Linked DNA regions of Homo sapiens: regions 2, 3, 4, 5, 6 and 7 are each linked to region 1. Evidence: promoter capture Hi-C in 16 types of primary human blood cells and fetal thymus (Javierre and others, 2016). All regions are on one chromosome and are shown on one strand. The core of a region is centred on a gene start or on the middle of the fragment in contact, and the rest is flanking DNA. Distances in the headings are between cores, read along the strand shown.

Evidence for each region. Contacts are between HindIII fragments. The CHiCAGO score rates a contact against its expected background, and 5 or more counts as called.
Region 2: a contact is called between a fragment that was not itself captured here and the fragment with the promoter of RAB21 in region 1, in 1 of 17 cell types (total CD8 T cells). The highest score is 5.2, in total CD8 T cells.
Region 3: a fragment that was not itself captured here is called in contact with the fragment with the promoter of RAB21 in region 1 in 1 of 17 cell types (total CD4 T cells); the score reaches 5.4 in total CD4 T cells.
Region 4: the fragment with the promoter of LYZ here is called in contact with the fragment with the promoter of RAB21 in region 1 in 2 of 17 cell types (neutrophils and monocytes); the score reaches 9.9 in neutrophils.
Region 5: the fragment with the promoter of FRS2 here is called in contact with the fragment with the promoter of RAB21 in region 1 in 4 of 17 cell types (non-activated CD4 T cells, total CD8 T cells, activated CD4 T cells and 1 more); the score reaches 6.6 in non-activated CD4 T cells.
Region 6: a fragment that was not itself captured here is called in contact with the fragment with the promoter of RAB21 in region 1 in 1 of 17 cell types (non-activated CD4 T cells); the score reaches 7.7 in non-activated CD4 T cells.
Region 7: a fragment that was not itself captured here is called in contact with the fragment with the promoter of RAB21 in region 1 in 1 of 17 cell types (total CD4 T cells); the score reaches 5.1 in total CD4 T cells.

What each region holds. Positions count from the first base shown.
Region 1 is chr12:71,752,659-71,756,605 of GRCh38, forward strand. RAB21 (RAB21, member RAS oncogene family) reads left to right here and starts at 2,205. Exons shown (of 7, transcript NM_014999.4): 1 at 2,205-2,630. The coding sequence starts at 2,472. RefSeq lists enhancers at 1,977-2,266, 2,907-3,096 and a silencer at 2,247-2,526. The HindIII fragment of the contact is 5,965 bases long and covers 474-3,947 here.
Region 2 is chr12:74,548,623-74,552,569 of GRCh38, forward strand. No RefSeq gene overlaps it. Among named protein-coding and RNA genes, the nearest start is that of ATXN7L3B, 13 kb to the left of the region's middle. The HindIII fragment of the contact is 1,818 bases long and covers 1,353-3,170 here.
Region 3 is chr12:69,240,002-69,243,948 of GRCh38, forward strand. All of the region lies in intron 1 of CPSF6 (cleavage and polyadenylation specific factor 6), which reads left to right. Among named protein-coding and RNA genes, the nearest start is that of CPSF6, 2.4 kb to the left of the region's middle. RefSeq lists enhancers at 1-304, 305-884, 3,788-3,947 and a silencer at 41-260. The HindIII fragment of the contact is 823 bases long and covers 1,528-2,350 here.
Region 4 is chr12:69,346,326-69,350,272 of GRCh38, forward strand. It overlaps LYZ (lysozyme), which reads left to right and starts at 2,056. Exons shown (of 4, transcript NM_000239.3): 1 at 2,056-2,219; 2 at 3,783-3,947. The coding sequence starts at 2,084. The HindIII fragment of the contact is 11,988 bases long and covers 1-3,947 here.
Region 5 is chr12:69,468,147-69,472,093 of GRCh38, forward strand. FRS2 (fibroblast growth factor receptor substrate 2) reads left to right here and starts at 2,242. Exons shown (of 9, transcript NM_001278356.2): 1 at 2,242-2,384. RefSeq lists enhancers at 1,913-2,414, 2,586-2,635. The HindIII fragment of the contact is 4,260 bases long and covers 1-3,016 here.
Region 6 is chr12:69,577,634-69,581,580 of GRCh38, forward strand. It overlaps FRS2 (fibroblast growth factor receptor substrate 2), which reads left to right. Exons shown (of 9, transcript NM_001278356.2): 9 at 1-2,160. Among named protein-coding and RNA genes, the nearest start is that of MIR3913-2, 5.1 kb to the right of the region's middle. The HindIII fragment of the contact is 812 bases long and covers 1,715-2,526 here.
Region 7 is chr12:69,725,469-69,729,415 of GRCh38, forward strand. The region is part of intron 2 of LOC101928002 (a long non-coding RNA gene); the gene reads right to left. Among named protein-coding and RNA genes, the nearest start is that of RAB3IP, 11 kb to the right of the region's middle. The HindIII fragment of the contact is 185 bases long and covers 1,717-1,901 here.

The sequences.
Region 1 (3,947 bases), core at 955-3,454:
TCTCTCAAAATGAAGTTCTTTTCTAGTTCTGGAAGTGTCTATAAATGTGCAAAGACCCTAAGGGGAGGAATGTGGAGGAGAGAGTTGGAAAATATATCTTTAGATACAATCATGAGGATATTTTATAAAACATAGAGTCTCTTTAATGGTTGGTTCTAAACAAATCTAAAATATTATCCTTCTCCAATTCACTTTTCAAATGATAGCCAGAGTGGTCAAATCTGATTATGTCAGTCATCTTACGAAAATCCTTCATTTGCTTAAAGACCCTTTCAGTATTGATCCCCAACTTCCTCATGGTCTCTTCTGGAGTTTTTTTTTCCTCCCTAAATTCTAGTCACATTTACAGTTGCTCAACTTTAGATGCTCCTTCCTATCTAAAGCCATTGAACATGCTGTTATCTCTGTTTGCAGAGCTCTCCTGTCCTTCCTGACTAGGTTACTCTTACCCAAAGATAACTTTCTCCAGGGAAAGCTTCTCTAGCATGCTAAATCAGTTGGGTTCTCATATATGCTTGCAAGATACTCTGAACTGTTTCATCAAGATGAAAGCATTTATTGTACAATTGAGTATGTCTGTCTTCCCTGATAAAATGTAAGCTCTGTGAGGACAGAGACATTTTATCTTGTTGATCACAGTGCCTGGCATATGGTGGGCACATTTAAATATTTGTTGAATGAATTAACCGACTCTCTTTTTTTTTTTTTTTTTTTTTGAGACGGAGTCTTCCTCTGTCGCCAGGCTAGAGTGCAGTGGCGCGATCTCGGCTCACTGCCACCTCTGCCTCCCGGGTTCAAGCGCTTCCCCTGCCTCAGTCTCCCGAGTAGCTGGGATTATAGGCTTGTGCCACCATGCCCAGCTAATTTTTTGTATTTTAGTAGAGATGGGGTTTCACCATGTTGGCCAGGATGGTCTCGATCTCCTGACCTTGTGATCCGCCCGCCTCGGCCTCCCAAAGTGCTGGGATTACAGGCATGAGCCACCACGCCCGGCCTCTTTTTTTTTTTTTAACCTGGTTTGAAGTGTGAAAGAAGTTTGATTTTTAAAAAAATGTTTACCTGACACCAGGTTTCCAGTAAATTTTCAGAAATATTAGTATGATTTCTTGGAGGAGTATGGTTTCTTGGAGGCAGGCCGGGCGTGGTGGCTCACACCTATAATCCCAGCACTTTGGGAGGCCGAGGCAGGTGGATCACTTGAGGTCAGAGTTCAAGACCAGCCTGGCCAACATGGTGAAACCCTGTCTCCACTAAAAATACAAAAAGTAGCGGGGCGCGGTGGTGGGCGCCTATGGTCCCAGCTTCTCGGGAGGCTGAGGCAGGAGAATCACTTGAACCAGGAGGCAGAGACTGCAGTGAGCTGAGATCACGCCACTGCACTCCAGTCTGGGCGACAGAGCGATACTCCATCTCAAAACTAACAATACAAACAAACAAAAAAGAATGGGGATGCAGATGAGAAAAAACAAGCAATCATCGAACAAGCCACCTCAAGGTGGAGTACCATGGAACGTCAGAGGCTTCATGAAAGTCAGAAAAACTGAAGAGCACTTGGGGTTAGGAATTCAAAGGTGGGCAGCTCTTATACAGACCTTGCCCTCAACAAACCTATAGTCTAATGAGAGTCGATAAACACTTAGCAAAGTATTAATAATATCCATGGAGTGTGTAAAGCCCTAGTAAAGGAGGTATACTGGTGGTAAGAAATACCTAATTTTGTGAGGTGGGGGAATGGAAGGATGGGGGAAGGATTGGGTGGTCAGGGACGCGGTTTAAGCTGAGACTTGAAAGATGATGGAGTAGTTGACCAGGCGGTCAGAGGAACTTGGAAGCGCTATGATTCGGGATCCCACAGAGAGAGATTCAAGGGCACCTTGGCAGATATGGTTTACAGTGACCTCTGGTGTGACAGATCATTAGCATTGTGAACATGCAAAAACGATGAAGTTCTGCCCTTCATTTCACCAGAGCTGGGCTCGCCTCAAATTCCTGGTTCCTTATTCCCGCTGGCTCCCACCAACTGAAAAGCAGAGGTGGCTCGCAAGCGGCGGGGCTCTGCCCTAGATTGCCAGTAGGCGCTCGACTCACATCCAGCTCCACCCCGGGAGATGCCCCAGAAGCCCCGCCCACGTCCAGGCACGTTCTTCTGGGGCTAGTCGCAGGGGCCGCCCCGGCACCGGCGCTCACGTGACCCGAGGTGTGACGTAGGAGGAAGGAGACGCCATTAGAGGGAGGCAGAGAGGGATCGTTCTTCGCTTTTCCTCCGGTGCCTGACGTGGTGGGCTGGGGCCCTTCATTCTCGGACTTTCCCTCAGCCCTTCCAGGCCTCGCCCGAGGAGGGCGTGGGGACAGCGCCCGGGTCGGCGGGGCCGGGGCGGTGGGGGCTGAGCCGGCCGTGGCTGTGAAGGCGCTGCCGCGGCTGTCGGGAGGGCGGCGCGACACTCGGGCTCGGGCGGCCGGGAAGCGACGGGATGGCTGCGGCCGGCGGCGGCGGCGGCGGGGCGGCGGCGGCGGGCCGAGCCTACTCGTTCAAGGTGGTGCTGCTGGGGGAAGGCTGCGTGGGGAAGACGTCGCTGGTGCTGCGCTACTGCGAGAACAAGTTTAACGACAAGCACATCACCACTCTGCAGGTGCGGACCTCGGGGAGCGGGAGGGGGCGCCTCAGGGCCCCTACCCCTCCGGGGCTGGGGAAACTTTGCCGCCCTGGTCCCCTGGATGTAGGCTGGCAAATCTCAGGCCTGTCATCTCCGCCTTCGGTTTACCTTTCCGAATTCGCCCTGGGGAATCACCAGGTCGGGGCAGCCTGTAGACGCGAGGACAGGCTGTTGGGAGGGAAGTGGAAGGGCCCTGAAAAGTCCCCAGTGTTCCCCGTGGTGGCTGCGCACGTTGTGGTCTCCGTCCGTGGGCTGTTTTTTCCCATTTACTGCAGTTCCTGGGTCCCAGGTGTCAGTGTTGCAGTCTCCAAATGTTAGCTCCTTTTCTTTCTTTCAGAATTAGGAACTTAGCTGCGTATTTGATTTTGCGAATTAGGTGATTTGTAACTTCAGCGCTTACTGATGACTAAGTGTTTATGCAAGTTCCATTTTGTCCTGAGTAACAGGAATGGCAAAAGAGCCATCTCTGGAGGTTTTTTGAAATGACCGCTTGCCTAGGCGTGTTACGCAGTTTCATTGCAGCCTGCGTGGGTCTGACTTGCGGGTCACTCATATTCTGCGAGGTCGATTGACCCACGCTGAAACATCAAGTGAATACTGGCCAACAATTGGTCCCCAGACTAAAAGCCGCTGCTGTTACTCAGTTTCTTTACCTGTAAAATAAAAGGTCGGCTTTCTTCCACAGGTACATTGGAAAGGTGTTAAAATGTTATCATTGATTGAGAGTGAAGCCAGGCCTTTGAGGGAGTTGTACTCACCCCACCTCTCCCAGAGAAATCAGTTTTGATGTTATTAGGAGAAATTTATCCTACTAATTTGACTTACCAATTTGGTCAAAGGCAGTAAAGTCTAGTGGACTTTTGAGCCTGATTGTCCAGGTTCATGTCTCACCTCCATCCATTTAACTAGCTGTGTCATACTGGGTAAGTTACTTAACCTGTCTGTGCCTGTTTCTTCTGTTAAAATGGCCATAATAGTAGTATCTAGCTCATAGGGTTGTCAGGATAAATATACAGAAAAAGCACTGATGACCTGGTCCAGTGTAAGTTGTCTGCCTTTAATTACCGCCCCAACTTGCACAATAGGTCTTAATTAGTAAATGTGTAGTATGTGAGAACATCGACACTACTTAATAGAATGCGTAATCTCCTAATTGTTGTGACATTGGATGTTTGATGCTATTATTAAACTACTGAGTCTAGAATTTACAAGACGCTCTGGCTCTGATTCCATGTTCTATTTTTACTCCTCTGATTTTACTCGTATGTAAAGCATATCTGAAAAAGTGAGTGC
Region 2 (3,947 bases), core at 1,012-3,511, 2.8 Mb after region 1:
AAAGCAGTTGGTAGCAAAAGGAAAGAAGAATATAGACTAAATAGGGCATAGTTAACCAAGAATCAAGAAGAGGAGAAAGGTAGTAAGTATCTGCATTAATGAAAAATCTAAGTGAATTACGTGAATGAGAAAAAATACAAAGTATAAGAAGAAGGAAAAAGTTTGTAGGCATCATACTCAAATATATGCATTCTAATCTTCATCCTTTCATTTATTACTAGAGTGAATTTGGGAAGGTAAGTTATTTTTTATGAACTTCAACTTCATAATAATGGAGATAGCAATATACCTCACAGTGTTATGTGACCTACTGCATGTAAGTTTAATCTAGTTTGGGTAATGAGTGATGAAGAATAAGGCTTTCTTGAGAAGATGGTATTTAAACTGAGAACTGAAGGATGACTTGCCTAGGCAAAATTTGTCAGAGTACATGGAGAGTGAATTAGCGGTGGGTTGTAAGGGAGGGATGGAGGTGAGGAAAAGGATTAAAGCTAGTATGTTAGAGATAACCACTTAAATTGAAAATTTAAAGCTCTGGAGAAATGATTATGCCTCTTGGAGATTTAAAAACTCTCAGTTTTTAACATAAATTCATATATCTTCTCCATCCCTATCAGGAGGTGTTTCAGGATGCTGTTTAATGGAATTGTCAATAGATGGTGATATTTATAATTGGCATGAACTCCTTACTAGTATCTTGTCAGGTAAATAGATAGGTCGTAATTAGGAATGTTATTCCACAGGGCTCTAAAAAGGCAACCTCTCATTAATACAATAACACCTTATACCCGCCAGGTTAATCTTAATTTTCAAGATGAAGTGCTGTCTTAAAGACACAGTGACCTTCCCACTTTTAATGTGCTTTTATTTCCTAAATTTGCTCTTCCGCTGCATTCTCCTCAGTCTCCCAGTTCTCTCCATTTTCAGACACAAACACATACACACACATGCATGAACAACACAGACATACACGAATGAGATATAACTTTAAATCAAGTCCTGAGGTCCTCTCAGTTCAGAGTAAGGTTAGCTAATCTGCTTTTGCTCTTGCTGCTGTATGATTATTACAGTTCAAGGATTTACTTGCACTCTAGCCACTTTTGCAGTTTGAAGGTGGATTAGTGTTGCCCTCTTACTTAAGTACTTCTCTTATAGCTAAACTTGCTTTTTGAATTTAAACTGCTTGTGTTATTTCTGCTTGATATTGAATTCAACAATGATTCAAAAATTGATTTAGATTTTGTGTAATAGATTGGAAATAACAAGCTTAGTCTTGATTTTACAAGAAACTGTGTGACCTCAATCAGATAACTTCATCTCTTTGGGCCAAGATTTCTTATTGATAACAAATAAGCTTGAATAAAACAATGTCTTAATTCCATTCAACACTCTATGAGTCTATGAGCTAAAAAGTTGGACAATCACCGCCAAAACCATCATATTCCCAGGATTAGCTTACCATCTAAATACACGGACTTTATTATACATAGACTATAGGTTCCATTACATCAGTCTGTAATTCTGTTTTATATATTGTTCTAGGACTTTGCTTCAGACCTCTTATGACCTCTTTGATTAGAAATATATCTTTCTAAACCATGATGTTATCTTTGTTTCACATTTATGTATCCAAGGACAACCTAGATATCTCCAATTATAGGTATCACAGAAAACTCACATCTCATATTATGCAAAACTGAAGCCTGGTGAGCCTGTGCCCCAGTGAATTTTATTCATTCCAAATGTTGAGAACCGCTGTCATAGAGAGAAAGCAAAATGTAACTGTTAATCCTATCAGTCTCCTGTAGGACATTCCTAGGAGGTTAGAGACCTAGGACAATTGGTTTTCTCTTCTGGATGAGTTCCTATACATGTAAACTGTTTGACTTAAAAATGTATTACAAAATTAATAGAACATATGATAAATAGTGATTTATTGATAACAATAGATAGAGAAAAGCTACTTCATCTTTGTTTATTGCCCAATCAGTGCATGAGGATTTCATATTATTGAGGAAATATTTCATATTCCTGGACCTATTTGGTCCAGCAATGACATTGCTCTTTGGAATCTTGTTTATATTGAAATAATATAAATGTCTTGCCTCTGCAATTTCCTAATACCCTTGATTTAATGCTTATTACATTATTCATGATGTGGAATCATCTGCCATACAACTATGAACATTCTATTCCAATGGCTATCTCACAGTTTATTAATATGTTTTGTTGGTTATGATCACCAGTGTAAGTTTTACCCACGATATACAGTGAAATTTGCGCAATAATTAGATTTATGGATATATTAAATTTACCAAAAGGAAATTTGTATAGTGTAAATGTAGAACAACACATCTTCCAGTAGCATTGGAAGAGTCTCAAATTCTTCAGGCCATAGTCACTAAATTCCTAGAGTGTGATATTTTTCAATATTCACTAAATCATACCTACCACTCCAACCCACGAGTAGGGTGGATAGGTAAGGGGCCGTCAGTAGAGAGAGAGCAGCAGTCTTGTTCATACAAGGAGGATCCATCCCATGTACTGTAAGGCTGAAGATCATGCCAAGAGAACATAAGGCCACCACATAAATTGGAGGCAAAAGAGAACAACTATCAGAAGGGCCATTAGGATTATGGAGTTATAGTCTTAAAAGCCCCTGGAGAAGATATATGCAACTGTCCCTGGAGAACTGCCTGACATGCTGTACATAGAAGGAGTTTGGAGTAAGCAGCGGGGTTGCTAGCAAGAGGAGCAACAGTGGATGCCGCAAGGTAAAAACTACTGCTGCTACCCCTGCCATGTTCTGGTGGTAAACAAAAGAGACAGCCCTATAATTGGAACAGACACCAAGATGGACAAGAGCCAATATATAACTCTCACATACTTGGTTCAAGTCCAAGTGTTGGCATTGGACCAATGGTAGGCTAGAGCCCTGAACTTGCCATGCCCATGAGTGACTGTCACACGGAATCAGTATGACAGTAACTTTCTGGCTGCATAATCTTGTATAATCCAAATAAAACAAATAAATATAATTTAATTATATCTAATTATATTTAATTATATATATCCTACTCTGGATAGGAGGAACTGGGGCCAGACTACAATTACTAAGCTCCTTAAGACATACCCAATGTAGAGGGTTCTGATGGTTAATTTTATGTGTAAGCTTCACTAGGCGAAAGGATGTTCAGATAGCTAGTACAACATTATTTCTGGGTGGGTCTATGAGGGTGCGTCCTTCCTTAAGAGATTAGCATTTGAATTAGTAGACTAAGTAAAGAAGATCCACCCTTACCAATGTTGACAGGCATCATGCAATCTTTTGAGTGTCCAAATAGAACAGAAAGGTGGTAGAAAGGTGAATTTTGTCTTCTTGAGCTAGGATTCCTGCCCTCAGACAACCTGCCTTCAGATTCAATGTTGCTGCTTCTTGGGCCTTTGGACTCTGAAACTTACACCAATGGCTTCCTGATTCTCAGGCTTTATCCTTCAGTTTCCAGCCAGAAGTTATACCATCAACTCCCTTGATTTTCAGACCTTCAGACTTGGACTGAATTATATCATCAGCTTTCCTGGCTTTCTAGCTTGCAGAGAGCATATTGTGGAACTTCTTTGCCTCTATAATCATATGAGCACATTTCCATAATAAATCTCTTACATATCTATATGTATCCTATTAGTTCTTTTTATCTAGAAAACCCTGACTAATGCAAGGGTCAAAGATCATACTGCAAGGATCTGGTCCAGGATAGTACTGCCACCCTTGGCCACTCCTAGGTACTGGAGGGGGCTTAGAACATTTTGAAGAAAGCACCCTGATGCACCAGGAATGCCCTCAGATGTGGGCCTATAAGAAGGACCCACTTTTCCAGACTAAGCGTGGTTCTGAACCACCATATAAAAGTTGTTTCCTTCTGGTTCTATCTCCTAAATATTTACTT
Region 3 (3,947 bases), core at 689-3,188, 2.5 Mb before region 1:
CACCCGGCTGGCGCTTCCCGCCGCGCTAGGCCCGGGCGGTGGGGCCGCGTGTAAGCGGCGGAGAGAACTGGCCGCCGCCGCGCCCCCTCCCCCGTCGCTGGTCGGAGGAGGAAGCCCTGGCGGGGCGCGTGCCCGCCGCCGCCGCCCCTTCCCCGCCGCTGCCGCTCGGGCTCCGATTCCTCCCATCGCTCCATTTTGTCTCCCTGCCCGCGCACTGTCGCCTCATGGAAGGCCGCGTTCACGGCCCTTTGTATCCCGCGCGCCCAGTCCCCGGGGCTCTCCTTCTCGGGTTTGCGACAGGTTTCGGCGTGGCGCCTTCCTCCTCCCCTCACACTTTCTGAAGGCGACTGAGGTGCGGGCTCATTTGCAACAAGTCCTTTGACTTTTGGAGCCACAGATAAAAGTCGGTGCGCTGGTCCTGCCTCATTAATCCAGGGCTTGCAGTGCTTTGAAGCCCAGTCGTTGTTGGCCTTTGTGATGAAAATACCTGTGAAGATGAGTGGCCGGGGACCAAAAGGAAGAATTGGAAGCGCGATGGTTGGATGGAACAAAAAGATGTTAGCTCACCCACAGATCTCATAGTGATTAAAATGAAAGAACGTTCACCCCAAATCCTTATGATGTGGTTTAAAAATAAAGAGTTATAGATAAGACCCTATTTTCGAAAACAAAGTGTTAAATCCCCCCACCCCCACCCCCGGGCCCCGTGTTACCTTTTGAAAGGTTGAGCGAAAGTGAGAATGCAAGGTTTTCCTGAACGACGTTGCTTAGAGGTAACGCGGGGCTGTGATGTCTGTTAATGGGCATCCTTGCAAAAGATGTCGTTTGTTGCTAGTGACGTTTAAGGTTTGAACCTGCTGTTCGTATCTACTGCATTTTATGTAGTAACACATTTAAAACAATTAAATTGTGCTTAACTGCAATGTTCCTAAAAGCCTTATTTTTTTGTATTTCCCAGGTCCCTATGAGAAGTTTAATGAAATATTACTGGCTAATGTGGTTTTCCCACCTCCATTAACCATCATATTCGTGACTAGTTGCTCAGGCTTTTTAAAAAACAAGGAAACTCAAGAGATCTTTACTGTTTTATTTTTCAGGAATGACTTTGTGCCTCTGGTTTAAATATTAGAAAACAGAAAAATACCAGTTGGCTTTAAATGTTTGCTATTCAGTTAAAGACTGGATTTGTTTAAATGTAATACATTGTAATCAAAGGTTAAGTTTTTAAATCTTTGTGTTTTTAAAATTGTGCTTATGTTTTAAATAATAATACTTGAGTTGTGTCCATTACAAATCAGATACATTCCTCGAGTGCAACACAGGTTCTAACGCTTATAAGACCTCTAGGAAATTTTTTTCCTTTTATTTATCAAATGAATATAACTGCGTTTAAAAGAGGGCTGTAACTGCAAGGAACAACGATTGAGTGTTCAAGACTGCCTTTATTAGCTTTACTTACAAGATAATACATTGGTTCACCTTTCTATGCACAATAAAAGAAGAATTGGGTCTCAATTTTAGAAGTTAAGCTTTTTTCAGTACCTCTTAATGAAATATTTTTAGGCTTTTGCATACTTAATTTGAGAGGGACATCTCCCTTATCCGGATAGCTGGGTGGATTCTTATCCCTGTGCAGTAGCAAGTGCTGACTGGGCAGGAGGTAAAAAGAGATTAGTTTTGTGGACCCAATGAGGAACTCCTTTTAAATGTAAGTTTTCAATGATTTGTATAAGGTACCTACTGCATTACGTCTAACACAGTTGTATAATTTTACCAGTAAAATCTTTATATGTTTGAATAGATTAATGGCGAGGATAAATAGAGGCATTGTTTTTGCTACTTTGCATATCATTGGCCAATCAATGATTGATTGATTTGTATATCCTTTTACATTACCGCTTCTTGCTGTGGTAGTTTCTGTACCAAAAAAAAAAAAAAGGTCACAAAAGGATAGTTGGTTATTTTCAGAGCTTATCTTGTTTTTAAAAATATGTTACTGTCATTGAAATATTTTTCCAAAATCTTACCAGAATTAGAGGCAACCACAAAATAATTTACAACTGATTTAATCTTTACTAGCTGGCGACCTTATTTCTACTAGTTGCTATAGTAGACTAGAACTCTTGTTTTATTGTCGTTGAGTAAAATACTAAATAGTAGCCAGTTTTGACTTACTTTGGCTTCAAAGCTGTTGTAAACATTAAAAAAAAAATCTTTGTTTTCCAGTGTAAACTGCAGTTCTCATTGGATTTGTATACTTTGAAATTCGGGATAGTCTTTATTTCCATTTTCTACTATTTTTTGTCTGTATCCTGCTGAGTCTTCTATTTTAAATGTCATACTTTTATGAAGCTTTTTTGTATTTTGGTAAGGCACAGTATTATTTCAAAAAGTGATTTGCATCTATTGAAGTAGAAAAAAGTGAGGCATTCAACAGTCTTAGCAGAAACTAATTTGGGGATAGATTGAGAATAATAAATTAGTGAAGCTCTAATAGAGTGCCTTTCTTCACCAGGTGAACTTAAGAATGGAGAATGAAGGGGGGAGGAGGCACAAGGGACTGGCTACTCCTTATGGGTTCTCTTTAGTTCTTAGAGGTCTTTGGATGTCACCAAGCTGAGAACAGCTGGAAGGGGAATTTGAACATCTTCCAAACCTCTCTATTACTTGAAGTTGAGAAGAAAGTGATTCTGTCTCACAGTAGCATATCAATTCAGTTTAAACTGCATTTATACTCAAGTGTAGTAATTACTAGCCCAATATTTAGTAATTGTAGATTTTAAAATTCTGGCCAAAACTAAATAATTTAAAAGTTGAATTGTTTAGCGCGAGTGTGGTGGCTCATGCCTGTAATCCCAGCACTTTGGGAGGCCAAGGTGGGCAGATCGCTTGAGGTCAGGAGTTGCAGACCAGCCTGGCCAACATGGTGAAACCCCATCTCTATCAAAATACAAAAATTGGCCGAGTATGGTGGTGCCTGCCTGTAATCCCAGCTAATCAGTAAGCTAAGCAGGAGAATCGCTTGAACCTGGGAGGCAGAGGTTGCAGTGAGCCAAGATCGGGCCACTGCACTCCAGCAAGACCCTGTCTCAAAAAAAAAAGATTGAATTGTTCAAAATACATTTGTTGAGTGTCTGTTATGTGCCAACAACGAGGGATACAAAGTTTAGGTAGTCTCTACCCTTAGAGTACACTGTAGGGGAGCTGAGAGATACCTACATACAGTAGTGCACACGTATCCACAGTTCCACTTTCTGTGGTTTCAGTTACCCGTGGTTCTGAGGTCTGAAAATATTACATACAATAAGGTAGTTTGAGAGATACTATATTTAGCTAACTTTTATGACAGTAAACTGTTCTACAATCATGTGTCGCTTCACGATGGCGGTATGTTCTGAGAAGTCCATCTTAGGTGCTTTTGTCATTTGTGATCATAGAGTGCTTTTGCATTTCAAACCTGGAAGGTACAGCCTACTACACATGTAGGCTATATGGTGTAGCCTGTTGCTCCTAGGCTACAAACTTGTACAACATATTACTGTACTGAATACTGTAGGCAGTTGTAACACAGTGGTATTTGTGTATCTAATATATCTAAACAGAAAAGGTAAGTGAAAATCTTGATATAAAAGATAAAAAGTGGCACACTTGTGTAGGGCACTCATGAAAGGAACCTGCATGATTGGAAGTTGCTCTGGGAGAGTCAGCAAGTGAGTGGTGGGTGAATGTGAAGATCTGGGACATGCTGCTGTAGACTTCATAAACACTGTACAGTACACTCAGGCTACACTAAATTTATTTAAACTTTTTTCTTCAATAATACATGAGCTTACTGTAATGTTTTCACTTGATTGATTATTTTCTCACTGTCATCCAGTCTGGAGTGCGGTGGTGCAGTTGTGGCTCACTGCAGCCTTTATCTCCCAGGCTCAAGCAGTCCTCCTGTC
Region 4 (3,947 bases), core at 806-3,305, 2.4 Mb before region 1:
CAAGCAGTCCTCCTGCCTCGGCCTCCCATAGTGCTGGAAATACAGGCATGAGCCACTGCGCCCAGCCAAGACTAACTCTTTTAATTGGTTTCTGTCTCTTTGGGTCCTGAAAATCTGTCTCACTATTTATTATTATTATTATTATTATTATTATTTGAGACAGAGTCTCACTCTCTTTCCCAGGCTGGAGTGCAATGGCACAATCTCGGCTCACTGCAACCTCCGCCTCCTCGGTTCAAGCGATTCTCCTGCCTCAGCATCCCAGGTAGCTGGGATTATAGGCACCCACCACCACACCCAACTAATTTTTCTATTTTTCGTAGAGACGGGGTTTCACCATGCTGGCCAGGCTGGTCTCGAACTCCTGACCTCAGGTGATCAGCCTGCCTTGGGCTTTCAAAGTGCTGGGATTACAGGCATGAGCCACCGCAGCTGGCCATTTTTTTTTTCTTTCTTTTTTTTTTTTTTTTTTTTGAGACAGAGTCTCACTCTGTTGCCCAGGCTGGAGTGCAGTGGTGTGATCTCAGTTCACCACAACCTCCGCCTCCCGGGTTCAAGTAATTCTCCTGCCTCAGCCTCCCAAGTAGCTGGAATTATAGGCGCACCACCACGCCCAGCTAATTTTGTATTTTTAGTAGAGACGGAGTTTCACCATGTTGGCCAGGCTGGTCTTGAACGCCTGACCTCAGGTGATCCACCCACCTCAGCCTCCCAAAGTGCTGGGATTACAGGCATGAGCCACTGCACCTGGCCCTATTTATTATTGAAGAATCAAAATTAGGCCTAGCCTGAAAAATGAGATTATTCTTGATTTTTGAACAGGGTCCTTGAACTGTCATTTAAAACCAAATCTGGTAATCTTTAGAGGCCACTGATGAAAAATAAGGGTAACTACAAAGTGATGACACTTTGTGTGGCTCAGAATCTGTCCTCTTAGGCAGATACAGAAGTGCAGTTCTTTTTGAGTTCTGGTAGCATTGTTTTAAAAGCTGTGCACAGCCTCCTGAGATTGCTATTTTCAAAGGTAGCATTTAGTTGGATATATGTTTGGGTAGGTTTTATTTTTAAAATGCTGTTGCTTTCTAATGACCCCTTATGTTCTAATATGGAAAGGGGAGGCAAAGTATTGTGAAAAGTAGTTGGTAAAGTAGGCCGGATGTGGTGGCTCACACCTGTAATCCCAGCACTTTGGAAGGCCGAGGCGGGCGGATCACGAGGTCAAGAGATCCAGACCATCCTGGCCACATGGTGAAACCCTGTCTCTACTAAAAATACAAAAATTAGCTGGGCATGGTGGTACATGCCTGTAGTCCCAGCTACCTGGGAGGCTGAGGCAGGAGAATTGCTTGAACCCGGGAGGCAGAGGTTGCAATGAACTGAGATTGCGCCACTGCACTCCAGCCTGGTGACAGAGTAAGACTCCATCTCAAAAAAAAAAAAAAAAAGGTAGTTGGTAAAGTTGTTCACATGAACCTTATTTATAATAGTAAAACACTGATTTATAATAATAAAAAATTTGCTATAGTAACAAAAAGAGTCTAGAGTAAGAAACTAGCTGAGCAACGTGGTGTCACACTATACACCCATTAAGACAACAGGCACATGTGTCATGTCCATTTTGTGGAAAAGATATGTAAAATAATTTTAAGTAAAAAAGATAAATATAAAAAAGTGAATGCATACAAAACAATTTCACAAAATTGAATGTTACTCAAAAATCACAGCTCATTTTAAGCTGCACAAAATAGTCATTTTTTTCTTTATAATTGCTCAAATTCATAATCAAACAGAAGAAAGTTCCTGTCTTGGAAGTAGTGCTATGCCCCAATTCTTCCAGAGCCAGTACTTTAAACAATTCCATTTCATTATTTTCCTGTAGACTAATTCTTAGGACATCAGCATATCTCTCTTCAAGCATTAAAAAAATCTCTTTAGAGTCAGTGGATCAATAGACAGTTCCTGTTTTCCACACAACTGAAAGGGTGGAGCCCCCAAACCACAAGGGGAAGAAGGAAGTTAAAAGATGTTAAATACTGGGGCCAGCTCACCCTGGTCAGCCTAGCACTCTGACCTAGCAGTCAACATGAAGGCTCTCATTGTTCTGGGGCTTGTCCTCCTTTCTGTTACGGTCCAGGGCAAGGTCTTTGAAAGGTGTGAGTTGGCCAGAACTCTGAAAAGATTGGGAATGGATGGCTACAGGGGAATCAGCCTAGCAAACTGTAAGTCTACTCTCCATAATTCCAGAGAATTAGCTACGTATGGAACAGACACTAGGAGAGAAGGAAGAAGAAGAAGGGGCTTTGAGTGAATAGATGTTTTATTTCTTTGTGGGTTTGTATACTTACAATGGCTAAAAACATCAGTTTGGTTCTTTATAACCAGAGATACCCGATAAAGGAATACGGGCATGGCAGGGGAAAATTCCATTCTAAGTAAAACAGGACCTGTTGTACTGTTCTAGTGCTAGGAAGTTTGCTGGGTGCCTGAGATTCAATGGCACATGTAAGCTGACTGAAAGATACATTTGAGGACCTGGCAGAGCTCTCTCAAGTCCTTGGTATGTGACTCCAGTTATTTCCCATTTTGAACTTGGGCTCTGAGAGCCTAGAGTGATGCAGTATTTTTCTTGTCTTCAAGTCCCCTGCCGTGATGTGGGATTTTTATTTTTATTTTTATTTTATTTTATTTTATTTTTAAAGACAGTCTCACTGTGTGGCCCAGGCTGGAGTGCAGTGGCATGATCTCAGCTCACTGCAACCTCTGCCTTCTGGGCTCAAGTGATTCTCGTGCTTCAGCCTTCTGAGTAGCTGTGACTACAGGTGTGTACCACCACACCCAGCTAATTTTTTGTATTTTCAGTACAGATGGGGTTTCACCATGTTGGCCAAGCTGGTCTTGAACTCCTGGCCTCAAATGATCTGCCCACCTCAGCCTCCCAAAGTGGTAGGATTACAGGTGTGAACCACTGCACCCAGCCGACATGGGATTTTTAACAGTGATGTTTTTAAAGAATATATTGAATTCCCTACACAAGAGCAGTAGGAACCTAGTTCCCTTCAGTCACTCTTTGTATAGGATCCCAGAAACTCAGCATGAAATGTTTTATTATTTTTATCTACTCTACTTGATTAACTATCTTTCATTTTCTCCCACACAATTCAAGATGTGCCATGAGGAAAAGTTATTTTATAGTTTAGTACATAGTTGTCGATGTAATAATCTCTGTAGTTTTCAGATTGAATTCAGACATTTCCCCTCAATAGCTATTTTTGAATGAATGAGTGAAGGGATGAAATCACGGAATAGTCTTGTTTTCAAGATTCTAACTTGATATCCAAATTCACCTTTAGATATTATAAGAAAATTTCTATCAGAAAATCCTTATGTTTTTCTGATTAAAAAAAGCATTTTTCCATCAGCCTATGTATCTGCTATGAATTTACAAAATCTACTCAACAGCTCTGTTGATTTTTCTGTTCTTGGCTGAATGTTGCCTGAGGGATGGGAGCACGGGAAGGGTAAAAGCAATGGAACAAACATGTATTTTAATATTTTAAAAGTATGTTATATTGTTCGTTGGTGTTACAAGATGATTTGCATTACAAAAGGATTCTCTTACAAGTCCCTTATCTTAACACTAAAGTGCTAAGATATTTTATAAGTAAATCTTTATACTTATAAAACAAATCAGTAAAATAGAAGTAGCTAAGTAGAACTGATTTTGCTATAGAGTATAAGTCACTTAGTGTTGCTGTTTATTACTAAAAATAAGTTCTTTTCAGGGATGTGTTTGGCCAAATGGGAGAGTGGTTACAACACACGAGCTACAAACTACAATGCTGGAGACAGAAGCACTGATTATGGGATATTTCAGATCAATAGCCGCTACTGGTGTAATGATGGCAAAACCCCAGGAGCAGTTAATGCCTGTCATTTATCCTGCAGTG
Region 5 (3,947 bases), core at 992-3,491, 2.3 Mb before region 1:
CTGTTGGAAAAAATTAGAAAAAAAGAGGAATATGTGGAAGACAAGATATTAGTTCTTAATATCTTATGCAGTGGTTCTTAAACTTGACAGTATATCAGAATCTCCTGGAGGGCCTGTTAAAACACAGATTGCTGGGTCCCACCCCAGAGCTTCTGATTCATAAGATCTGGGGCGGGACCCAGTAATGTGCATCTGTAACAAGTTCACAGATGATGTTGAGAGGCTTAGTCCAGGGACTTCTAGGGGTGGGGCCCAGCAATCTGTTTTAACAAGCCCTTTAGGTGGTTCTGATGCACTCTCAAATTTGAGAACCACTGGGATAGTGGTGAAAAGCATCTGAGAATATGGTCTGCAAATTCAAACCCAGGCGGCTCCATTTACCAGTTAGATGACCAGATTAAATGACTAACCTCTAGCACCTCTGCATCCCACACAGAGCCTGATAATATCTGTGATTCAGGATTCCTCTCACTATCCCTTTAGGCCTTGAGTAAAAAGAGATGTCGGTGAGTCCTGCCAACCCACGCTGTTTTTTACTTCTTCACACTCTGAGGCACAAAAGGCTGCTTGAATTTGAGTATTACGGAAGTATTTGCCAACACTTCTGCGATCACAAAAATAAAGTAAGAAAGCCCTGTAAATAAAGCCAAGAGCAGTGGCATTGTTTGCATCTTAAATTTGTAATAATGGGTTTTCAACTTTTTTCCTTTCCCCTGCCTTTCATAGTAGAAACATTTAAAAATCTTCCCCGCCACCCCCCCCCCCCCCAGTTTCAAGAGATGTTAGTACATTTGTTTTGCAGATAGTATGCATTGCTAAGAGGCTTTTTTTTCTTTCCCTGCATCCCAGATACAGAATCTGCCTCAGATATCTGGTGCCTTTCTGATTTTGTGGCTGAGGAATCCCACGCCCTCCTCCTTTCCATCCCTTTTCCCTGTCTGGTATGTAACTCTGTGGGTCCTCATATTATCACTGCATGGAGCTTCACAAGCACCTGTATTTTTCCAGTTGTAAAAACCCCTACTCTTTCTTTTTTTTTTTTTTTTTTTTTTTGAGACGGAGTCTCGCTCTGTCGCCCAGGCCGGACTGCGGACTGCAGTGGCGCAATCTCGGCTCACTGCAAGCTCCGCTTCCCGGGTTCACGCCATTCTCCTGCCTCAGCCTCCCGAGTAGCTGGGACTACAGGCGCCCGCCACCGCGCCCGGCTAATTTTTTGTATTTTTAGTAGAGACGGGGTTTCACCTTGTTAGCCAGGATGGTCTCGATCTCCTGACCTCATGATCCACCCGCCTCGGCCTCCCAAAGTGCTGGGATTACAGGCGTGAGCCACCGCGCCCGGCCAACCCCTACTCTTTCTTATTTCCTTAACTAATCTTTTCTATTGCCTATTGCTGATGAGGTATAAGAATCGTTAACTTTTATCCAATGCCAGACATTCTGAAATGTTTATCATGCATTATCATTTTGGATTCCTACAATGCAGAGATGATTTTATAACTTGCCAGGGTGAAAAAATAAAAGTAAATAAAAGGAGACAAGCAAAAAGATTCCAGATCCCCACCCCAACCCCCCCAACCCCCCAACCCCAGCTCTCGCCTCTGTTGAAGTCACCAGTGATGACAGAATATAGGAATATAGTTTGAGCCCTGTTTTTAAATAATTTCAAAATCTTGGTATAGGTAGATGAGATTTATACACACGTGAATTAAAATCAACCAACATTTGTGAGATTGGGTTTGGTATCTTTGACCGTTTTTCTCCCCTGCAAGACGTAGATAATAGCACCAACCCCAAGGAGTTTGGGGATGATTAAATAAGTTAATGCACCCGAAGGGACTTAATACAGTGCCTACCACGTAGTAAGCGTTCAATAAATGTTAACTATTATCATTATTTTTTAAAGGAGGCAGATTGGAGCGTAGAGTACACTGAAGGGAGTCGGGAGGCCGGGTGTAGGCACTGGATTCTTGCACCTAATTCTCCGAGCCTCGGTTTCCTTATTTGTAAAATTAGCTGGCTGGAGTAAAACAACTCAAACAGCAGTTAAAGCAAAGGGTGCAGCAGTAGCCGGGGAATCGAGGAGGCGCGGGGCGGAAAGGGTTAGTTAGGAGCCCAGAGGCTGATCTGTGGGCGCCCGGCGAGAGAGGCCCCGCCCCGCCCTGGAGGCCCTGGCAGCTCCGGGCTGAGAGCAGTTCCGGTGCCAAAACCCTTCCCTCCCCCGCTCCCCCGGAAGTGCTTTTCCAAGATTCGGGCCGGAGAGAGGCCTTGTAGGCACAGCGGCTGAGACTCGATCTGCTCCAAGTAGGGGCTCCAGCGCGGGTCGGAGTCTGGGGGTTCGCGCCCGCCGACCCGCGCCCTGCTCCCTCTCAGCACCTGGGCGGACGGTGAGTGGCTAGGGAAACGGACTGGGACGGCCGCGGGCCCGCGTCGGAGCTGGCGTTCTCGTGCCCCCGCTGCCCGCTTCGGGATCCGGGCTGAGGGCTCGGCTGCCGGCGTCCGGGGAAGGGGATTGTCGACCGCCGCGGACTTCTCCGGGCCAGCGGGACGGGAAGAGCTGGCTGTGGGTCCATGGGGTGGGCGGGGCGGAGCCAGGGAGGGGGTTCCCAGAGCTGTTGTTGCTGTTGGGACTCGAGAGTGGGGATGGGCTGGGCCTCTGTTCGTCCGTCCGACCCCCCTCATGTGTGCTGCCCCAAACCTCGCCGCTCCCTAGTTTGGTATTCTGTGTCCGGCCTGGGGTAGTAGCTGGACACCAGACTCAATCTTGGGCTCCAGTTCCCGACTTTTCGCCTCCTCTGGGTCTGTCCTGGGGTCAGTAATTAACCCGGGTCCCAGGGGTGTCGTCTTTTCCCTCCAGGGTGGGGCGCTGCCTGTACATGCCAGGGATCTTTTGCAGGGCTTTTCATCCAGATTTGCTTCAGGGTTGTCCGGGATCGATTTGGACTGGGCTCGGAACCGGTCCTGGATACGTAGGTCGCTGTGGCACCAGCATGCTCTGTATCATCTTTACTCACTTGAAAGCTTGCTGAAGCTGTTGTTGAAGTAAACTTAAAGAAAAAACTTGCTTAAGGAAAATCAGTAGTTTAGACACCCCCTCCCCCGCCTTTTTTTGCAGACATACTAAAAAAAAAAAGATGCTTTTCTCTAATCTACACTCTTAATTCTTTTGGCTATCTGATGTCACAGTTGTATGATGAGTTCATTCAGAGGCTGTACGAATTGATTTTAAAGAGTTGGACAGTTATATCCTTTCTCCCAAAGTTTGTTTACCTTCATATTTGGAACTGTCATTTTTCTTAAGGAAAAATTGTTCTTGGATTTTCTTGAGAGATTCCTTACACTGTTAAAATTGTTGCTGCAATGCAGAGTTTCACACAGGTGGGCAGAGATGTTTTGTTTAAACTTATTCCATGAAGTGTTTACTTCGGATAAACTGAGGATTTCCTAGGGGAGAAAGTGATGTAGGTAGGTTTAGTGAACAGATTTTAGGTAGTAAACTTTACTGCTGAAAGGTTTGTAGGAAATATGGGTTTTCCACAATAAATGGTGATTTAAAAACTTTTTATAAGGGAATGCAGTTACTGCAGATTATTGCTATTAGCAGATGGCCACTGTTTTTGCAGCGTAAAGTATTCACAAATCACCTTCTTGAAACCAGTGACGCTATCTGCAACTCTCATCTTGTGTGTAGATTAGGGTTTATTCTGTAGTTTTTTGGGTACTTATGTCATTCTCTTTCCTCCCACCCCTGAAAGGGGAGGTGGTATCATGAATCAGGAAAAATAGACTGAAGTGACAAGTTCAGTGAGCTTTTCCTATGCAAAGGAAAATTTATTTCAAGGTTGTTGATTTTGAACAGGCAAAGGGTAGATGATTTTTAAAGTCCTTGGAAAAAATTGTGGAGAGATTAGCTGCACAACTTTTCTTTTTCCTCTTCCTTTCTTTTCTTT
Region 6 (3,947 bases), core at 871-3,370, 2.2 Mb before region 1:
ATCTATCCCATGCTAGGGTTGGAAACTGATATTGGTATTACTTGTGTTTTTTCTTAGTGTGTTTTATTTCCCAGTTTCATCTTCTTCTAAAAATGAAAATATGGTGCCTTCCCTCCCTCCAGGAAGACTGGCAAATATTTCCTTTTATTTACTGCTGCTGTGGAGTGATGAGATATGCACTTTACTCTTTAAGATTCAGCAAAAAGCTTTTCACTTCTCAGTATATCCAGAATACATCATATCTGGGACTTAGGAAAATTTGCCAAGCAATCTTTGTTTTTATAGATACTAATGTTGACCCTCTCCAGCGTTCAATGTTATAAATAGAACAAGTCAAGCTAGTGTTTATCTCCTCCCCCTCCCCAAAACTGTGGCACAGCATATAAAAATGTACCTCAATAATGTTCTATTAAAAATGGGACAGGGGCCTTATGTTTTCATAATTTCCCAACAATGTGCCGCCATATTTTTGCCTCAAGGTAAAGGTTTTAACAGATGAAAAAGTACTTCCCAATTCCCCCGTGCTATTCCTAACCTATAATGCCCAAATGTTTTGTGCAATGTGTAGTGTGTGTGTATAAATACATATATTCTTGAAATAGACATACCATCAGAGACATCATTCACAAGTAACTGATGTATTGGCATCTCATTCATATTTCTGATGTGTGAGGTATATGGTACTAATTACCTTTTCCTTGATGTTTGCCAAATTTGAATAAAGGCATTGGTACGAAATTACAGAATGTAAAGAAAATGTTTTTGGCTTGAAAAATTAACATATTTTATGACGTACCACAGTATACTCTGCCCAAACCAGCACCCTATCTATCTTTCCTGTTCTTTACATCCCTGTTCCCCATCCCTACTTCCTCATTTTTGGTATAACACAGTTCTTTTGTAGCATCATTATAATTGCAGTTCTATGGCAATTGGACAGTTATAGCATGGAAACAGACTGGTATAAGTAGTACAGTAGTCACCAGTGTGCCACATTTGCATTAGTAATGCAAAATATACATTTTATAAAGGACAAACTTTGTGTTATGTTTTATTTTCATTACATTGTATAATATTGTAAGACTATTGTATGTCCTAATTTGCATTATAAATGTTTTTTTCCTACGTAAAGGCATAAATATAGCAACTTTGTATAAAGGTAGCTTATTAGATTTTTAATTTTTTCTTTTATAAAAAATTGTCCAACAGTGGGACTACCATTGCCAAATTGTATATGAAATATGAATTTTACCCCCATGGTTAATTTCTTTTATAAACATTCCATATTTCTCTAATAAAAAGACATAAGTGATACTGTACTATGCATACATTGTATCTTAATGCTGTTTCAGATCAGCATTTTAAATTTTGGTTTGCATTTTTAATATTGGCAAAACGTAACCACTGTTAATTAAAATAAAACCTTGTTGTATATGTAACAACATAATTTTCCCTCTATCCCTTCCCACCCTTTGTTCTCTATTTCTCCCTATCAGTGCCAACTTCATACATTTTGTAGCATGGCAATAAAATATAACTTTTACACTGAGGCCGAGTGTGGCTTTTTGGAGGAAGTGGGGATGGGACGATTGCCCTCTAGTTGTCCTTTGCATATGACTGTTTTTTGCCATATAAGCCATGTCATCAGGCATGAAAAGTTTTCTCATATATGATGTAAACTTGCTTTTAAGGACAAGTGTGAATGTGCTTTTTAAGCTTAATTTTTGTCATGACAACTAATTTTTTTTATCTTTGGAGAAGTCAGAGTTCTTTACAATCAAACGTTTATTAACTGGAGTACTTAGAATAAGCTAGTAATTGAATTTAGTTCAAGGGCTAAGCAACACATTTTTAAATCCTTATTTATTGTAGAGTATTAGTATACTGTCCTACAAATTATGTAAAATATGGTTTAATATTAGATGACTTTGGATTTTGCAATGCCTTACTGTTGTCATTCTAGCATAAATATCCATAATGAGGTACTCAAGTTGATACTGGAAGCTGAGCTGATCATACACTGACCTGAAGCATTCATGAAAAGCTGCTTTATTGAATAAAGTCTGATTGGAGTTCTTTTCATGCTCACTTTCCCCTTATTGCTGAAAGTAGATTGCAATAAAACCCCAATAAAACGTTTGGTCGGATATCTACTTAAAAGTTTTATTGTATTTATATTTCACATACTACTTGAAACTTTGTGACATTTTCTTTCCTAGTCTCATATCACTGCCTCCATTTTCAAAATGAAGATATCAAAATGAAATTGTAACTATATGACAGGCTTTCTCACAGTTTTAGCTGTGTGATCATTCCAAATAGTAGTTCTCAGCTCTGGGACTTCAAACCTGTTTTTAGCCACTGAGTGACATTGCAAAGCCTTAGTTGAGTACAGGTCAAGATGGAAATTATTTAAACAATGAAGGAGATGGACATGTCCACAAGTGATTGATGTAACTGGCATGATAAAGACACACACAAAGGAAGGGCATCCAACTCAGCCTAGGGGTGGAGGTTTTCAAGCAAAGCTTCTTAGAGGGGGTGATCCCTGAGGTGGTTTGTTGAAAGTCTTTGTAGCTTAGAGAGGATGTCTTAGGGAGAAGGGATAGCATGTGCAAAGGCACAGAGGTATAGAAAGATCATGACATTCAGTGGTTGCAAGAGGTTCCAAATGACTAAGCGCATGGAGAGCAAAGGCAGGGTTGGGGGATACAGAAGAAAGGAGAAATGAGAAACAGATCACAGAATCCTAAGGAGCTTTTGTTTAAATTAGGTGAGAGAACTTGAAGGATTTTAAACACCAGAAAAATAATAGTTTAGAAAGATTTCTCTGACAACATGGATACGTGAAGGGCGCAGTATTTTTTTTTTTTTTTTTTTTTTTTTTTTTGAGACGGAGTCTCTCCCTGTTGCCCAGGCTGGATGGAGTGCAGTGGCGCCATCTCGGCTCACTGCAAGCTCCCCCTCCCAGGTTCATGCCATTCTCCTGGCTCTGCCTCCCAAGTAGCTGGCCCTACGGTATTTTAATAAAGCAGGGAGACTGGTTGAGAGGCTTTTTCAGAAATGGAGCCAGATCTGATAAATCCGTATTCAAAGGCATTGTTAAAGGACTGTTTAGATTGTTTACTGCTGTGCAACAAACCACCCTAAAAGTTAGTGGCTTAAAGCAGCAATCATTTAATGTCTCAAGTTGCTATAGATCGAGATGGGCAGGGCACAGCAGAGATGGCTCATCTCACATGATGTCTGGAGGCCTGGCTTCCTCATATGCTTTGTGCCTATGCTAGTATGATTCAAGCAGCTGAGGGCTGGCTGGACCAGTTCCACTAGGTTATGTCTGGAACTTAAAGCTCTCAGCTGTGTTCCTTAGTTTTCTTCCATGAAGTCTTGGGTCTTTCTTCATGTGGTCTTCTTACATGGCAGCTTAGGGTTCCCAAGAGCACAAAAGTAGATGCTGCTAGGCTTTCTTGAGGCCTAAGCCCAGAACTGGCACAATGTCAATTCTGTTGTATTTTGTTGAATTACAGTGGCTCATATAAAAGCATGAACATCAAAAGTGTAGTTTATTCAGGGCCACCAATGTAATAGAGGGCCTAAAGGAGGAAGAATTAACACCTCTGATTGATAAGGGGAATGACAGAAATGGAGGGGTCAAGGATGACCCCCAGTTATCTGGTTTGGGTGACTGAGATGGTTGATGGTGTCAGTTCATTGAGATTTAAGATATATTTGGGGGCTGGGCATGGTGGCTCATGCCCGTAATCCCAGCACTTTGGGAGGCTGTGGAGGGTGGATCACTTCAGCCCAGAAGTTTGAGACCAGCCTGGGCAACATGGTGAAAACCTGTTTCTATGAAAAAATACAAAAATCAACTGGCGTGGTGGTGTGTGCTTGTAGTCCCAGCTACTCAAGAGACTGAGGCAGGAGGATAGATTAAGCCTGGGAGG
Region 7 (3,947 bases), core at 559-3,058, 2.0 Mb before region 1:
TTTCAAAGATAGAAAAGTGAAAATACAAATATACCCACTCATGTTCATGCCAGAAGTCTTCTCTAACTCTTTAGAATAGTAATGTTCACATTTTAGGAATAATTAGAAATCTATAAGCATGTGGCCTGATTTCTCTCCTAATCAACTCTGTTAATAAAAATGCATATATAGCCTACCAAAACTAGGTATGACTCATATCTCTTGGCTAGATGTTACTCAAAGCCTAATAATTGGGCTGGGAGTGGTGGCTCGGGTCTGTAATCCTAGCACTTTGGGAGGCTGAGGTGGGCAGATGACCTGAGGTCAGGAGTTTGAGACCAGCCTAGTCCAACATGGTGAAACCCGGTCTCTACTAAAAATACAAAATATTAGCTGGGCGTGGTGGCAGGTGTCTGTAATCCCAGCTACTCAGGAGGCTGAGGCATGAGAATTGCTTGAACCTAGGAGGCAGAGGTTGCAGTGAGCTGAGATTGCACTACTGCACTCCAGCCTGGGTGACAGAGCGAGACTCCATCTCAAAAAAAAAAAAAAAAAAAAAAAAAAGCCTCATAATTGCAATACGCTGGAAATTTCAGGACCCCAAGAGACAGACCAATTAGGAGTATGTGCTGTTCATTTACTTCTTATAAAATATCAGGCTAAGCAATATTCAGGTATTTCTAACACTGTTTCCAACTCTTTGCCTCAAGGTCAGGTTCTACAATTACCTGAATCATCTGGGCCCTAAGTTGGCATTGCTAGCATTGAATTGGGGACAGATGCCCATTTCTTGTGGCCAAAAGTGCCTGCTTGTCTGGCAAGAATAATTTCACACAGGGATGATGTCAGAGTATTTTTGGTCCTGAAAGATACTTACTTACCTGATTCAGAAACTTGTTAATTAATTTTGATTATGTCAATGATAATCCAGTTATACATGTGACTAAACAATTCTTGAACCGTCTAGACTGTATTCAGGTAGCATATAGCTGAATTTCTACTCCAAATTTTTGTTTCTGATAGTATGATTGCTATCAGTCTGGATTTCAGTAGTTTCATGGAAGAATAAAATTTAGGATAATTTTGTGATTCATATACCACTACTCAAATTCTAATTAAATTTTGTCTTTTTTGATAGCATGTTTCCCTTTCAGGTCTGTGAAATTAAATTCCTCTTGCAATCAAGCTGCACAGATAGGGGAGACACTTGGTAATTCAAACACATCTTGGGGTTTGCACACCAAAAGCAGCTGCAGAAACTTAAAGTATGATTCATGTTCATCAGAATATGTCTTCTAAAATTCGGACTTTATTTCTACCAAAATAGTACAGCAACTCCTCAAAATCTGTAATTCCATTAAGCTCAAGGCGGTTGACCTGAGCTCAACTCATATGCCTGGTTTATGCCTGAGATTTTTACTTTCTGAAACAAAAGCCCTTCCTTTCCCCTGTGATTTCAAGTTCAGTATATTCAGATGTTTCATCAGAACAAGAAAGCACAATCTCTTGGGCCCCTGAATGTTGAATAAGTTGGGCCAGTGAGAGCTCTTTAATTCCCCAAAGTTCTTGACCTCAAAACATCTCTTTAACAAGTACCCATAACCTACACTTCTGACTGCATTCAAATAAACCCAGACTGCATACGCTGTTTTGTCTTTGCCCAAACTGATGACGGTTAGGAGTACAGGCATGAAGAATGTTGACAACCATGATAATTTCTATTCTTAGACCAGGAAAAGCTTTCTTGCAAAGCTCAAATGAAAAACACACCCGATGAATGATGCAAGGAGCATCAGACCACTTTAACGCTTAAATTAGTATTAAAGCATTTCTCTCCTCTTTCACTGTAGATACCCCACATACAATAAACATCCATGTTTAGACCAAACTTCTCAAATTCCTTTTTGAGATAGTCTTTGCAAAGCTTCTGTGTTCTACCTAACCAGGATCAGTTAGATCACATACTGGATACTGCTGCTTTGGAGCATTCCATTCCATATATTTTGCACATGGGATGTACATCTTAAATTTAAAATAAAAAATATTTTTACATTGTTTCTTAAGTAAGTGTGTGTCATAATGGTTTTCAAACTTTTTTTTTTCCAAGCTGGAAGTTCAATATGCAAATGAAACAAAAGAGAAGCTAGCTGTAGTTAAAAGGAGTTGAGAGAAAAGACAAATATATAGACAGAAAACAGATCAGTGGTTGCCTAGAACTGGGTTAAGAGTAAAATTATTGCAAATGGACATGAAGGATCTTTTGGGGATAATGGAAATGTTCTTAAACTGGAATGTAGTGTGGTTGCACAACTCTAAACATTTGCTAACAATTATTGATTCATATACTTATAATGAGTGAATTTTATGGTATGTAAATTATACCTTAATAAAGTTAATAAAGAAACTAAATATAAAATAATGCAGGATGGCAAGAAGTTGTTGGAGATATAGATGAAGCAGATTGGTACTTCATTGATAATTGTTAAAATTGGAAATGAGTGTGTACAATCTTATTTCACTCTTTTTCTTCATTTGTGCTCATTTAAATTTAAAAAAAAGAGCTGAATTTAAAAAATAAAAAATAATAAAGGGGGCTGAGAATAAAGGAGCATTTCCCTTGTCCATTAGAGACAAAATTTTTAGGCCTATCTGAAGCACCTTTAGATACTTAATCAATGTTTGTGACTAGTCTATGGTACATGAAAAGAAAATGTATTATTCTCGCTCACATATTTATATAAACTTATAAATATATAAATGTACATATACAATCTACCTTGCTAATTATGTTATTTAGGCCTTCTATATCCTACTTAATTTTTGACAACTTGATCTGTTCTGGATGAGATAAATTAACTAGTCATGTTTTCTGTGGATTTCTCTTTGAATTTGATGTAGTTTTCCTTTATAAATTTCAATTTTATGTTATTTGGTACATTGATATTCATAAGCATGAAATCTTAATTTTGCATCTCATGTTTTATAAAGTGCCTATCTTTGTCTTATTTAATACTTTTTTCTTGAATTTAACTTGGAGATAAAATCTTGATCTTGGTTTTAATTTGCTTGGTATGCCTTCACCTATCTTTTTATTTTCCACCTTTCTAAATCATTTTGTTTTCACTGTATCTTATGTATATAGCACAAGGTTGAGATTTGCCCTGATATCCCAGTTGAGAAAATTAATTGAAAATTTTCAGTGCTCATTGAAAAGAAGGTCATGTCATCTTTTATCTTACTTTACCTATCTTTTGTTTTTTTGTTAGGTTTTGTTTGTAGTGCTCATTTATTTTTCACTATATGGCCTGTATATATATTCTTTGTGTATGCATGTGTTTTGAACTTGAAAGGTTTGCATTTTTGTTCCAGTGGTCATCTTAATAACTTTGAAACTACTTTTTATATATTATTGAAAGCATTGAACAGTGTATTTCCTGTTCCTCACCTCTTTACCCTCTAATTATATTATTTTTGTTATGTTTACCTTATTTCTTTTCTCTTTCAGCTTTTGTTGGTTGTTTCATTGTGATATTGTCAAGACTTACAACGGTTACTCTCTGTTCTATGACCATAATTCTCAACGTTATTTTAGACTTACTTCTATAGATAATGGATTTAATGATTGCTACCAGTCTCCTCTCACTGCCCATATTTCTAAATTCGTCTCTTTGGTGGTTGAAATTCATTCTCTATGAATATCCTATAAAAAAGGGCAATATTAAAACCATATTGCTTGCATGTTCAAAAGTGTTCATTATATTTTTATTTGAATAAGTTTCTCTGGTATGAAATCCTTGGGTATGAAACCTTTAGAATTACATTTTAATTTTTTCCCCCTTATAGATGTCTTGATCATTTTGCTCTGGATGCATGAAAGATCCTTTCATTATCTTTGAAATCCAGTAGCTATGCTAGACTAGGTCTTGCTTTGATTATTCTTGACATTTTTTAATTTGGGATATGATATG